2 separate regions of the Homo sapiens genome follow, and region 2 is linked to region 1. Evidence: promoter capture Hi-C in human tissues and cell types (Jung and others, 2019). All regions are on one chromosome and are shown on one strand. The core of a region is centred on a gene start or on the middle of the fragment in contact, and the rest is flanking DNA. Distances in the headings are between cores, read along the strand shown. Region 1 holds the start of TMCC2 (transmembrane and coiled-coil domain family 2). Region 2 overlaps NFASC (neurofascin).

What was found. The method cuts DNA at HindIII sites, captures the fragments that hold promoters and counts their contacts. A contact is called where the count stands out against the background at its distance.
Region 2: a fragment that was not itself captured here is called in contact with the fragment with the promoter of TMCC2 in region 1 in 1 of the 25 tissues and cell types used here (dorsolateral prefrontal cortex).

The regions. Positions count from the first base shown.
Region 1 is chr1:205,224,582-205,231,211 of GRCh38, reverse strand. It overlaps TMCC2 (transmembrane and coiled-coil domain family 2), which reads right to left and starts at 3,266. Exons shown (of 5, transcript NM_014858.4): 1 at 2,441-3,266. The coding sequence starts at 2,647. RefSeq lists a silencer at 3,166-3,345 and an enhancer at 3,476-3,615. The HindIII fragment of the contact is 10,382 bases long and covers 1-6,630 here.
Region 2 is chr1:205,015,513-205,022,142 of GRCh38, reverse strand. NFASC (neurofascin) reads right to left here. Exons shown (of 30, transcript NM_001005388.3): 30 at 1-5,835. The coding sequence ends at 5,604. Among named protein-coding and RNA genes, the nearest start is that of CNTN2, 24 kb to the left of the region's middle. RefSeq lists enhancers at 2,565-3,360, 3,361-4,158. The HindIII fragment of the contact is 9,872 bases long and covers 1-6,630 here.

The DNA of each region.
Region 1 (6,630 bases), core at 2,017-4,516:
AAATCAAACTGTGAAAGTCCCCAAGTCACATCTGGTTGGAAGTCCCTTGCACCCGGTAGTAAACATGTTGTGATGAAGCAGACAGAGATAAACAGGAAAAGCCCTGCTTGTTTCCCCATGCTCCCACAAGCAGGCTGCAGCTGGGTTTTCTGCTCCTTACTGGGTCCACATTGCTGGGTTCAATGGTATGTTTTCTCTGGGGGCGGGGGGGGGGATGGGGGGATGGGGTGGATGGGGGCGCGGGGTAAGGGGAAGCCTCCTTTTCTTACACCTGATTTCAATTCTGGTTGAGGGCAGTTCGGCAGTTAATATCAAGTGTAAAGTTGTTACTACATCTGCCCCTGACCAGAATGAGGGCACTGCCAAAAAAAAAGAAAGAAAGAAAGAAAAAAAAGATAATACAGGAGAGTGGAAACGTGGCATCCCTTAAGGCGTCCCTCTACAGAGACACTGCAGCCCCCATGCCATGACCAACCCATCTTCCTCATGAAGGCAACTGGGGGAATAAATGGAGAAAGCAGTTTCCACTGCTGTCCTGAGTTGGAGAGTGGGGAATTTCCAAAGCTGCCTCTCACAGACTCAGCTGAGGGTCTCATTGGTCAAAGATTCAGGGTTTGCTGGCCAGACTCATCTGGACCGGCTCAGAATGAGGCTGAAGTCTGCAGCAGAAGGCTAGCCTCCTCCCCACAACAGCATTCAAGAGACCCCTTCCCCCTCACCATCTCACTTAAAACAGGAACTACACCTCCTGACCACATGGGATGGACTCGGGGGTGACAGCAGAGATAAACACCAAGGACTCCCTGGGCCTGGCAAAAGCTCAAGCTTCTTGTGCAGAGAGAGCCTATCCCACAGAGATCCTCTAGACATAAGTCTAGCCACGAAGCTCTGAAAAGGACGGCGGCAGAACCAGAGTTCAGATTTGAATAATTACTGCAAAGTTTAAAAAACACACACAACAATAACCTAGTCGTCCCCCTTTTCACTCCTCCCCAAGGCACACAGACAGGTAACATACACAGGTAAGAGCACACACACTCACCTGCGCTCTGACTTCCTGACTCTGAGCTGCTCAGGCCAAATGAGGAATGGCATTGGCTTATTCTGGTGAGCTCCTTAGTGGCTGCTGCCATAGGATATAGGCTTTATTAAATGCAACAGAGTCCTTTCCGTTTCCCTAGCCCAGACCCTGCACCTTCTCTGGAGAAAATAACTGTGAGGCATCAATTTCCAAGGCATCTAAGTTCCTTCCTTGGGCTGACATCTCGCTCAGCTGGACGGTGAGCTGGCTTGAGAAGCCTGAGCCTGCAGTCCCTGTGGCAGTTCCGGCAAAGGTGCATTATTTATCTCAGCTGCTGTTTTAATTGATAGAGATATATTCAAGACAGCTCGCCAATTGTCTCGGCAACCTCAGGCCGGAAAATAAACAGCTCCATGTGAACAGTTCTTTCGGCTTCTGGTTCTAGCTGCTGGCTCAGCATGTATGCAACTTGAACTGAGGCCCCAAACCAGCCCAAGCACTGCTCCACCACCTGTCAGTTCTCCACCCTGGGGGTTGGTTCAGCAGGCAGGCAGAGATCTCCAAGCACTATCTTAACCTCTGGCTCCACCTAACGGCAGGAAATCCACCTTCCCCCCCCGCCCCCGCCACCACCCCCCCCCCCCCGCCCCTTCACAGATCGGCAAACTGAGCTTCATCCAGGAAAGCGCTCAAAGATCCCAATGGGGCCCGGCACGGTGGCTCACGCCTGTAATCCCAGCACTTAGGAAGGCCGAGGCGGGTAGATCACCTGAGGTCAGTTCAAGACCAGCCTGGCCAACATGGCGAAACCCCGTCTCTACTAAAAATACAAAAATTACCCGGGCGTGGTGGCGGGTGCCTGTAATCCCAGCTACTCTGGAGGCTGAGACAGGAGAATCGCTTGAACCGAGGAGGTGGAGGTTGCAGTGAGCCGAGATCGCGCCACTGCACTCCAGCCTGGGCGACAGAACGAGACTCCGTCTCACACACATACACACACACACACACACACACACACACACACACACACACACACAAAGATCCCAATGGGTAGAGACTTACTCAGCAAGGAAAACTAATGGTCACCTGCTGTCCACTTTTTGGTTAGCATCTTGGATTTCTCCAGCCCTTTGTCTGCGAATAACACTTCACACATTATTCAAACAATCTCGGATGGGTGAGTCACTAAAACGCTTGCTGAATAATGGGGAACAAACACAGAGACCTGACACGGAGCTGAAAGACAGAGGCATAAATGGTACCTGACGTCCCCCCTGGGGTGCCAGCAAAGCATCCGCTCATCCTCTCTGACCTTTGCCTGGCTTCCCCCCTCACTTTTATCCTGTTAAAGCACTTCTGCGTGGGGTGGCGAGAGCTAAGTCGCGGGCTGGGCTTGCCGGGGGGATGGTCTGCGCTCACCTTTAAATCAGGAGGCTTGCTTCGGGGACCTGGGTTGGGCGCCGCGGCAGCGCCGGCGTCTGAAGTTGGCCCGCCAGCAGAGTTAGCACCCGTGGTCTCCCCAGGCCGGAGGTCCGCGCCCGGCAGGTGGGAAGCGGCATCTTCCAGCCCAGCTCCATCCTCCTCGCCCTGTTGTTGCTGCAGCTCGTCCGATCTGCACCTCTTCATGGTGTATGTGGGTCGGCAAGGGGAATCTGTCCTTCCAGCGCGCCGTCTTGGGGAAGACCGCACCCCCTCTTATATTCATATGAGGCCTGGGGTCTAAATTATTAACAAGGAGGGGAGATGGCAGACCACAATTTCTTGAATTAAAAAAAAAATTCTTAAAGGCGGGTGAGGGAGGGGCGAGAAGGGGGAGCCTTGGTTATAGCTTGGAATAGTTCATTTCGACCTGGGGAGCGAAGACAGGTCACAGTCGAGGCTGGGCAGCAAGAGTCCTTGGGCAGTCATTGCAGGAGGGAGAAGGGAGACAACCCCCGGCCCCCAAACTTTCTGCTTCAGGGCATGGGCAGGACGGAGAGGAGCTGGGCGGCACAGCGCATCCCTCCCGGCCGGCCGGGCTGCGGGGCGAGGCGGGGCGCGGGGCAGCCGGCCGGGCAGGTCCTAGTCGGCCGCCATCGGCGCCGGCTGCAGCCCCCGGCCCTGCAACCGGCCCCTGCCCCGCATGGTCCGGCCGCGGAGCCCGCAGCGCGCCCGGCCCCCTCCCCGGCCCGCGCGCCCCGCTCCCCGCCTGACGCGCAGCCTGCCGCAAAGCCGCGACCGCGGCCCGAGCCCGCGGCGAGCGCGCAACCTACCCCGCCCGGCTGCCTCCGCCCGGGAGCGGGAAGGCGAGGCTAGGAGGGAGTGACAGCGGCAACCGGCCAATGGGAAGCCCGCGGGGCTGAGGGGGCGTCGCGCAGCTTCGTTTTTGGGGTTGGTTGCACCGTGCGATCCCCCAGGAGAGGGCTGGAGGACGATGCTGCTGCGTTTTTGCATTGCAGAGAGCGGGCTGCAGTTCAGGGGCGGGGGCGGCGGGCGTGGGAGTCGCAGTTTCGGCTCCAGCTTGAGGGACCCTGCCGAGGAGGGCTCGCCCAGGATTTCCTCCACCCATTCGCTTTATTTGGCGAGAAGGAGCACAAGAGGGATGTTTATTATCACTGCTTTTTGGGGCTCTTAACTTTGCACCTTCTAGCCATAAGGGAGACACCTATCCCCTCTAGGATACTTGGTCTGAGTTAAATCTATGCCTACATTCAGAGCTGCAAATGCCAAGGGGAGGGGGCGTTCTCTCCTCATCGCCCCGTCCCCCGCTTTAAGTGCATTATTTCTTAATGAGACTTTACTTGGCATAATTTATGCTCAGAAATTGGGAAGAATTTCATATAAAAACACAATAACGTATGTGAGAGTTCCTTACAAACTGTGAAGCAGCTTTTAAATAAGAAAGGGTATTAATGGCAGGAGGTTGCTACATATAGATGTGTGGAAAGGGAATGCTGTCTCTCTTTGCATAAATCTCAGCCAAACTGTGCTGAGTAATCTGGAAGCAGAAGAGAGCAAACGTTGGGGTTACCAAGATATGGAGAGTAGTAATAATAACAACCCCATCTGAGTGTCTATTGTATGCCTCCTGTGGACACAATGGATTTTACTCATCCAGCAACCAGTGGTTCACAAATTGTGATCCTTGGACTAGCAACTTCAGCATCACACGGGAACTTGATAGAAATGCAAATTCTTGGCCACCAGCCAGACCTAGAGAATCAGAAGTAGTGAGCCAAGAAATCTGTGTTTTGACAAGCCCTCCAGGTAATTCTGACACACACTACCCTTTGAGAACCACTGGCCTAGACAGTGAAGGGGCCACACGGTCTCTAAAGGATTTTACAGTTTACCAATCTCTTTCGCACCCATCATGCCATTGTAGCCTCACTTCAGTCTCACTAGTCGGAGTTTCTTGACTTTCTGTTCTGTCTTCTTCCCATTCCAACCACTCATTTTAATGTGTATCCTAGAAGAGACTAATTTGTTAAGAATTTACTTCAGCCAAGCAGCTACTTTCTAAACTAGGCAGCTCCACTTTTAGAAGATAGGAATTTAGGATGGGCTGGGAATGTGGAACCACCCCCCACATCTACCACAAAGAATCGAGCACAATGTGGAAACACAAAGCTATAAGCCTTTATTTAGCATTTTCAATGGTGAGGGGATGGCAGGATGCCAGTGTAGACCGTGGGCAGGACTAGACAGAACCGGTGGGGGCAGGTTCCCATGGTGCAAGGTTTCAAGCAGAGGAATATACTGCTCCCTGCCTGACTTGGCCCAGATAAGTGCAGCGGCCCCAAAGACCCTGAGCAAGTCTTGAGGGGCACGCGGTGGCCAGCAAATGGTGAGCATGCATTGACACATGTTCATGACCTGACTCGAAGCCGAAGGAAAGTGAAGGGATTTGGTTTAAGGAAGGGATTTGGTTTCGTTTAAGGAAGCAGAGAGCATTATAATTTTGAATTATGCCTCATTTCTATACTAGATAAAAGTTGGTCTTAAGTTTGATTTTTATATTATCATATACATACAGCATGACAGCCACATTTTCTACTTGTCGTCATATTTGCAAGGTGTGATTCAGGTCAGCAAAAAAGTCTGTGGTGTGTTTCATAAAATCAGCTAATACTTTACATTCCATTTTGGAGAGGCATCATAGCATAATGGTTAAGAGCTCAGGCTCTATGGCCAGATAGGGGACAAATCCTAGCTCTGCTCTTCACTGACCATGTGAGTGGGGACACGTTATCTAACCTCTTCATGCTCCAGTTTCTGAATTATTTGGAAGTAGGGATAATGACAGTACCTACCATACAGGGTGTTGGGTAATATATGTAAAGCACTTGGACATTGCCTAGCAAAGAATGAGGGCCATAGCTATAACCACAGATGTCATCCAGTTTCAGAAGTGTTGCACATTTCACTCCAATGCTTCTATCTTCAGGAGTTCAAATGTGTCCCACCAATTTCTGACTTTCACTGAGTGTCATATTATGGAATAAGTGTGCTACTGCCAAAGAAGTTTGGCTGAGAAGTCTGTGTAGAGACCTGAGTGACCTATAACCACCAGTTTGAAGCCAATGGCAAATTTTCATTAGCCGCAGCAAATTCTTGAGCACCTAAGAAAATCAGAACTTGAAAGTACTTTGGTTGGTTGAAATTTTGTTTACGGCATTAGATTATTCTATCATTCTACGTTTCTTTGGGAAAATATAGGCACAAATTATGTTTTGATATTCAAGATTAGACAAAAGTTTGCAGATACACAATGCAAGTGATTATATTTTCTATGTAGGAGTAGCATTTCCATTCTGTTTTGGCACACCTAGTTAATTACAAGGAAATAACATGATTTAGTGGGAAGAACATTGGTCTTGGTGTCAGAAAATTCATGTAAGCATTCTAGTTCGGTTACTTCTTGTGAGCTTAACCTCTTTCACCCTCGGTTTTCTCATCTATAAACCAGGGCTAATACTATCTATCTTCACTGGTTATTGTGAGGATGAAGGTAGATAATGCACGTGAAAATGCTTGACACATGGTATATGTGCAGTAAAACTAAGTGAAACAAAAATAATTAACTTGTCCAAGCCCCCCATATACCATATGAGAAAGAGAATTATCCCAATAAGCTGAATGCTTTTTGTGAACAGAAATCCCAGTTAAACTAATGAAAGGGAGCACTCTGGTAGTATCAAATTTGCTAAACCAATAAGTATACACACAAGGAGTATAAAGGGCAGAATTATGGAATCCTGCTCTCTTGTCAACACCCAGTTCATTTAGTTTGATAAATGGTTGAAGCTTTCATTATAGAGGATAAGGTGCCAAGATTAACAAAGTGTAGAGTAGGGTTTTGTTTTGTTTTCTTTCTTTTTGTAAAAGCAATTAGGTCTGAAAAATAAAAGGCTTCTCTTTTTGCCAATAGTAAGAAGCTTGCAGATTATCCAAGGCAATTCTATGTCCTATTCCATAGCAATACTTAAAAAAACATTTAAACATCAAATGGATAAGTGGTTGTCAGTGCGCTATTTTAAGATTTAACATACTGAGTAGAGTGATTCAAAGGTAAAAGTACTCTCTAGAGGGACTAGATATAATAATTTTGCTCACTGAATTTTGATACC
Region 2 (6,630 bases), core at 2,061-4,560, 210 kb after region 1:
AAAATTCTGGATATCTTCTCCCAGAGTTTTGTGTTTATTGCTTCACTGAAGTCTTTACATCTGTTGAACTCCAGCCCAGCAAATCCCAGGGTGGCAGCTTGCATGGGCCCTGCTGCCTCTCTGCACCCTGTGGCCATGGGCAGAATGGACCGAGATGCCCTCACTTCTGAGGAATACAGCACACTGAAGGCCCGATGTGTTACAAAGCAAGAGACACCATTCTACGGGGTACGGTCTAGGGTTCACAGTAACAAACACCAATCAGCTATCCTATTCCACTGGCCCAGATCTGCCCTTAATTGCATGACTGGGTGAACCACACACAGGCTGATCACAGACAGACTGATCTTGGTCTCAGAAACAATCCTGTTTGTCTTTCATTTTGGGAGGCATGTGGGGGATGTGGGAGACGCAGTAAAGAGGTATGAGAGGGTGAACCAGAAGGACAGATCTTAATACCTCTGTTTCAAAGGAGGCAGCTGTGGTGAGATGAAAGAACACTGACTGGACAAGGAGTCAGAAGGCCCAAGTTCAAGCCCTAACCTTACCTTAGTTTACCAGCTATGTGATCTTGAGCAAAAATCCCTTCACTTCTGTGGATTTGCATATCCTTGTCTGTACGATAGATCATTTCAATGAGATCAGCTCTGGGATTCCTTCACATGCCGAAATCCGATTCTGTCCTAAGCTAGATGCCTTGTACCTATTTCCATTCTCCTCATTATGGAACACCCATTTAATACTAGTGTGCTGATAGGAGGAACAGCAGCTTCAGGTGAGGCCTGAGACACTGTTTGGTGGACGCTTGTGGCTCTCCTGGATGGTTCTCCTTTCTCTCTGATCCTTCTCTGAATGTGTCTCAGGAAGGCCCATTATTAGTAAGGAAGGGAAAGAAAGGACACTTCCCTGGGCTTGGGCTGTGCAGGCTGGGGACAGCCACAAAGTCTGGCTTGGACTCACATGGGGTAGCCCCTGTCTAGGTTAAGGAATGCTAGGAGATGGTCAAGGGAGGGCACTGGTCTGACTCTGCCCGGCTTGCCTATGCCTCCCAGGGCCTTGGTCTCCTCTTGACATATCAAGCTCTTTGTTTCATTGTTTTGAGGCCTCTCTATTTTTCCTTTTTAAAATCAGGGCCCTCCTCCATGCTACTCCTTGGCCACCACGCAGAGCTCAAGCAGGATCCTTTGCCAACTAACGGTGTAGATGCAACCGCAACCATGGGCTTTTGTGTGTTTGGCTGGGGCTGGCCGGAGTGGTGACTGGGCAGGAGGTCACTCTGCACCAAGGTGTCATGAGTGGGGAGCGGTGCCTTGTGCCGGCCTCCCAGGAACCTGCTGGCCACTGAGAAGGGATTCTCTGGCACTAGCCCCAGCCGACGGAAAGCCCGAGAGGCTTCCTCTCCTCAGAGAGTTAGCAAAGCAGCCTCACAAAGACAGACAAAAATGTGCTATGTCCCTGCTCCCTCCATCAAATGGGCTGTTTGTGATGCCCTAAGACTTGGCCCTGCTCCAGCACAGGGCGCCAGAAAGAGCCCGCTGCCCGTGCCATTGCTTGGGCAAAGTTTCCCACTCCTTCAGCTCAGATGCTCTCTCTAGGTGCTGCCAACAGGAATTACCTAAACAGGGCCCAACCCTGGTGGCCTTTCCCACTCCTCTAAGGTGCGTTCCTCATCCACACAGAGCCCTTTGCATCTTATCTCACGCAACTTGGATGTGGACTAACCCTCTCCAAGACAATGTTGGAATCTGGATCGCTATCCCTTGGAAGCACTGCTTGGCAACAGGGTTGTGGTCTGCTGTATGTATGTGAGCATGCGTGGGCACTGGGTGTGGCAGGGGAGCTTGTCCGTTAGCTGGGAAACCCACACATCCTCGGGTTTCCACCGTCTTCCCAAGGCTGTGGTCAGGGAAACTATGAATGCGCTATGTGGGCTCAGTTGCACCTTGCAGGGCAAGCAATGTTGGCACTGGCTGATTTTCAGACCTGTGGTCACCTCTCCCGACTTCAGGGCTTGCCAGGGGCAGGGGCAATGGGGTGGACCAGATGTCTCCAACCTCTCAGAGCACAAAGGAGGGTGCTGGTTTGGCTTTCCTGTTAGCTTAAATTCAACCATCTCCTCAAAAGCAAGGCAGGAAAAGATGAGTCCCATTCACCATCACCCAGGCAAGGTGGGAGGCAGCTGTCCCCTGACCGATGGCAGTGTACTTCCCGAACCCTGGCCTCGACAATCCTTCAGGGGAGCCCGTGCCTCTCTGTAGAAAGAGGTATTCAAGGAGGAACTGAATGGGAGACAGAGGCATAAAAATACAGACAGGTTAAGGAGCTTGCCCCAAGAGGCAGAGCAAAGAGGCTCAGGAAGCAGGACTGTTTCTCAAGCCACACCGTGGTTCTTGACTGCTCTGTCCCGCCCAGCCTTGGTGACCAGATGGACCAAGCTCTCCCTCAGAATCCCTCTCTTCAAGCTCGCAGCCATCAGTGGCTTAAGCGGTAGAGGGAAGAATGCTCCCAGCTCAATGGCCACTGTGTCCTAGCACTTGATTTTAGGACTGTCAGCCCCATGAGGGCAGGGACCACATCTAACTCACGCGCCATGGTATCCACAGCTCAGGCCTTAGTTCAGACTGGATTTCAGATTATTTGCTGAATGAATGAATGAATGAATGAATGGACAAATGAGAGCACAGGAAACCACAGCTCTTAGGGCTGAGCATATAGGTGGGATTGCAGCCTAGTCAAAGGAACTTCTAGAGTTACTGTAAGATGCCCAGCACTTTCCTCCCAGCCAGACAGACTGGAGCGCCGATGGCATGGTGCTGTCCTGGCTTCACTGTTGGTATGTCTTGGGGTAGTTGCTTGGGAGACCCAGCTGGCAGGCAGTACTGGGCAATTCCACTTTCCTGCTGAGCTGGAGTGGACTCTGACATGGGCTCCATGGAAAATGCACCCTCCTCTTCCCCAAAGGGGCTGCCTCCTGAATCCTGCAATCCCCACGCCTCAGCGTTTGATCTCTCTGACCACCTGCCTTCCTTGCTTGGGGAAAACTTAATTCTTCAGCCTCAGATTTGCTTCTGCTCAGAGGGGTGTGATGGCGTGGTGATGGGGGGCAGCTCTCAGCACCCACAGAACAGCAGCCTGAGAGAGGGCTAACAGCATTTTCTTCATACACAAAGGACAGTACAGAGCCTGGCAGGACACTGGAACGAGGTGCAGAGGCAGGCTGCGGGCTTACTTCTCCCCAAGACCCTTACGAGAGAAGCAGCCCTTCCCAGTCACCAGGTGGTGTGGCAGACTTGCTCATCGTCCCTTCCTGCCCTAAGGGCCTGCTTTCGGTGCAATGGGTACGCTGGCATGTACGGTGCAGTATGGAATGAGTGTCTGAGAAACTGACTACTCTGCTCAGATCCAAAGCGTTTTCTGGAAAGGCCAGTCCTTTAATTCAGCTCACAGGCACACTTCCCTGACATTCCCTTCAGGGACAGTGGGCCTAGTATCCAAGCAGGTGTTGGAGGAAATCCAGGGGAGGGGCCCTCCAAGCTCACACCCCACCCCCTGCTGTTTACCCTGTCCCCTTGCACTGTGATAAGCTGCCCCTCAGGCGTCCAGGCAGCAGCCCTAGCTGAGGCTTGGCCCAAATGACCATTACACACTCTCAGGTTCAAACAACCTTATTGGCTCAGTTCTGGGCTATGGTTTCTTACCAGCAGAGAGTGTGTGTCTATGGGCTTGACCTTCAACTGAATGATTATTAATGATGCAAGCATTGCTAATACCTTTGCGGCTTAAACATGTGGCAAATGTTGCTTTAATAAAGTCACGGAAGGACAGAGCCCTGGTCTGGCCCAGGCCCCCTGGCTGGCAGCCGGAGAGGCTCAAATCGGAGGCTGTGCCCATGGCAGCTGATCCATTCCTGGGGATCAGCTTCACCCTCCTGAAACTGACCTCAGCTGCAGAAACAGCTAAAGGGTTCCTCTTAGACTCAAGATCTCCCCCTCTCCTTCTCTGTCTCTGAGGCTAGGTACCTTTGGTTTCAAAAATGCATTAGGTGGGGAGGATGAAGGCAGCACCTTCGGTCTGAGAACTGCAGGTCTGCGAGTGTCTCCATTTGGGGTGACTGGTGAGGACGTGTGTTGAGTGGCCACTTCTGGTCCTGCCGGAACACTTGCATAGGCTGCCCTGCTCTCCTGGAGATAGACGTTGCTGGAGGCTTCAAGGCTTGCAGGGGGGGAGCTGGGAACCTGGGAACTCCAGGGACAGATCAGCGCTGCATAAGGCATACAAAGAGCATTGAGTCCTCCCTAGGTGGGGGCATCACAACACTGAGTACGGTGCCACCTCAGGGTCCCCTGATATGTATACACCCCAATGAAAGGGCAGACCTGCTCAGTCTTGGGGCAAGTCCCCATCCACACACCATGTCAAACAAGAGCCTCAGTGTCCTACAGAATTGGCTGAGAAGATGATATCTGCTAGAGATGGAAGGGGAGCAGTGCCTTATGCCCCAAACACACCAGCAAAGCTTTTGCATCACAGGGTTCCATCTCCTCGAGGGTGGCAGCATGGGCCCTGGCCACGTGGACAGGTGCCCTCTACTCTGGACAGGGTGGGTGTGGCCCTCTATCTACATCCTGGGTTTCACCAGTGAGGAGGCATGAAGTCCAAACCCAGCCTTTTTCTTCTCTCTAGAAGTGAGCACAGTGCCCCCAAGACCAGACACCTGATTTTCTTCTGCTGGAGGTACACAGTCACTGGCGTTGAAGTCCTTTCTATCAGTGCCCACTCCTGTTCCTCAAACGTCTTCAGAGTCAATGCAGCTCACATCTTAGATATTCCAGAGAAAAGGGCAGGGGAGGAATGAGGAGCAAGAGGTAAACACACCTCCCAACCAAACCAGAGAGCAGCAAGGAGGCCTGCGCACCTTCTCCCTGCCAAAAATACTGTCATTTTCCAGAAAGGAGCCAAGCCCAGCTCAGCAACTGACAAGGCCGAGGCAGAGGGGCTGGGGGCCAGGGGAGGCATATGGCGAGAAAGGCATCCTTTGGAAATGCATTGGCCCAGAGGTGGTTTGAATATTACAGCCTGTCTACGTGTTCTGGTATGGATTCAATCCTTTTTGCCTATCTTTGCAAAAAGGATTCTCCTGGGGGAGAATCCACTTATTCTTTCTTTTCCAGGGACTCTTTTTCAAAAGGAAAAGAAAACAGAGACATTGGGTCTGGAGGGGAAGATGCACAAAGCGAAATTAAGACAATGAGAAGTCCCGTAACCAACAGAAAAGGTGAGCGTGTGCCGAGGCCAAGGGCGGACAGTGTGGTGGAACGCTCGGGGTGGCTGCGAGACCGGGCAAGGGGCCAGGCTCCCTCCAGCTGAGCTCAGCCACGGCTCCAGCTCTCCCACACTGGTGGCACCCGGGGCTGAAGGGGGGTCATTGGGAGGGGGCTTGTGGGTGGCTTGGTGGCTACTGGTCCTCACAGCTTGGCAGACCCCCATATCGTACCCTTGTTACTGAAGGTGGTGGTGGCTTCGTGGTAGGTCTGCAGTGGTTTTGTCTCCCCTTCTCCCCTCCTCCCACTTGCAAAGTGGTGGCTGTGCCTGGGTGGGCTCCGTTAGGCCAGAGAGTAGATAGCATTGACAGGTGACGTGGCCTCTGAGCTTTCGTTGCCCTCTGTTTCCTCCTTGTCCTTTTTGACCGTGTACTGGCCGATGAAGGAGCCGTCTTCATTGAACTGACCCTCGCCACCCTCGCCATAGTCCACCAGGCTGTCGTCACTCTCCTGCTGCTTGATGGTGCCGTCCAGAGATGTCTGACTGCCCTGCAGGGGCTTGTTGTCCTCATCACTGGCCAAAGAGAGACAGAGAATCTCAGGTGGGGTGAGATGGGGCAGCTGGCCTCCTGCCAGCACATGCCCTACACAGCTCAGAGAGGATGGGATCCAGGAGACCGCCCAGTCCAGCCCCCGCTTCACCCTCCCCTGTCCAGCCTGCTTTGCAGAAGGGAAATGGAGGCCTAGAGAGGACAAGCACCTTCTCTAAGGTGAGGTTGCAGGTCAGGGCAGGGCAGGGAGTGGAGCCCATGCTTTTGGGCTCCTGTTCTGGGTCTTTTCCATGAGATTGGGTCCCTGTGTGTGGTGGAAGTGGACAGAGGATGGCCACCCCATGGTGAGGCAGAGCCACTGCTTGTGAGACCACATGGAATGGTTCTAGTCCCGAGTGTGTCACTGTGTGGTTTTGTGACCTGGGCCTCAGTCTGTCCATCAAGAGGGGCTGGCCCAGCTTTGATCTCCCAAGACCTGTGACTCTGTAGGGAAACACTCTCGCCTTGACAACAAGCAAGGCTTTTAAAGGAACAAACCTCTCCCTCACCTCTCTGCTTGTCTGTCTTGGTGTCTTTCGCTGAGCTATCTGGTTGATCTATAAAAAGATGTTATTGCTTTGGGCCTAGCAAGCACAGGTGCGCAAGAGTGGTGGTGGTGGGGGGGCACACAGGTAAGCAGGTGATGCCAGCAAACGTGAGAAGACAGCAAGGCTCAGAGGATCATGCCCAGCCCCTTCTGAGGCCCATAGGCCCTGACCCTAAGCTCCCCTTGTGCAGGGAGAGCTGGGAGGCTGCCGAGTAAAGCTGCACGGGCCGCT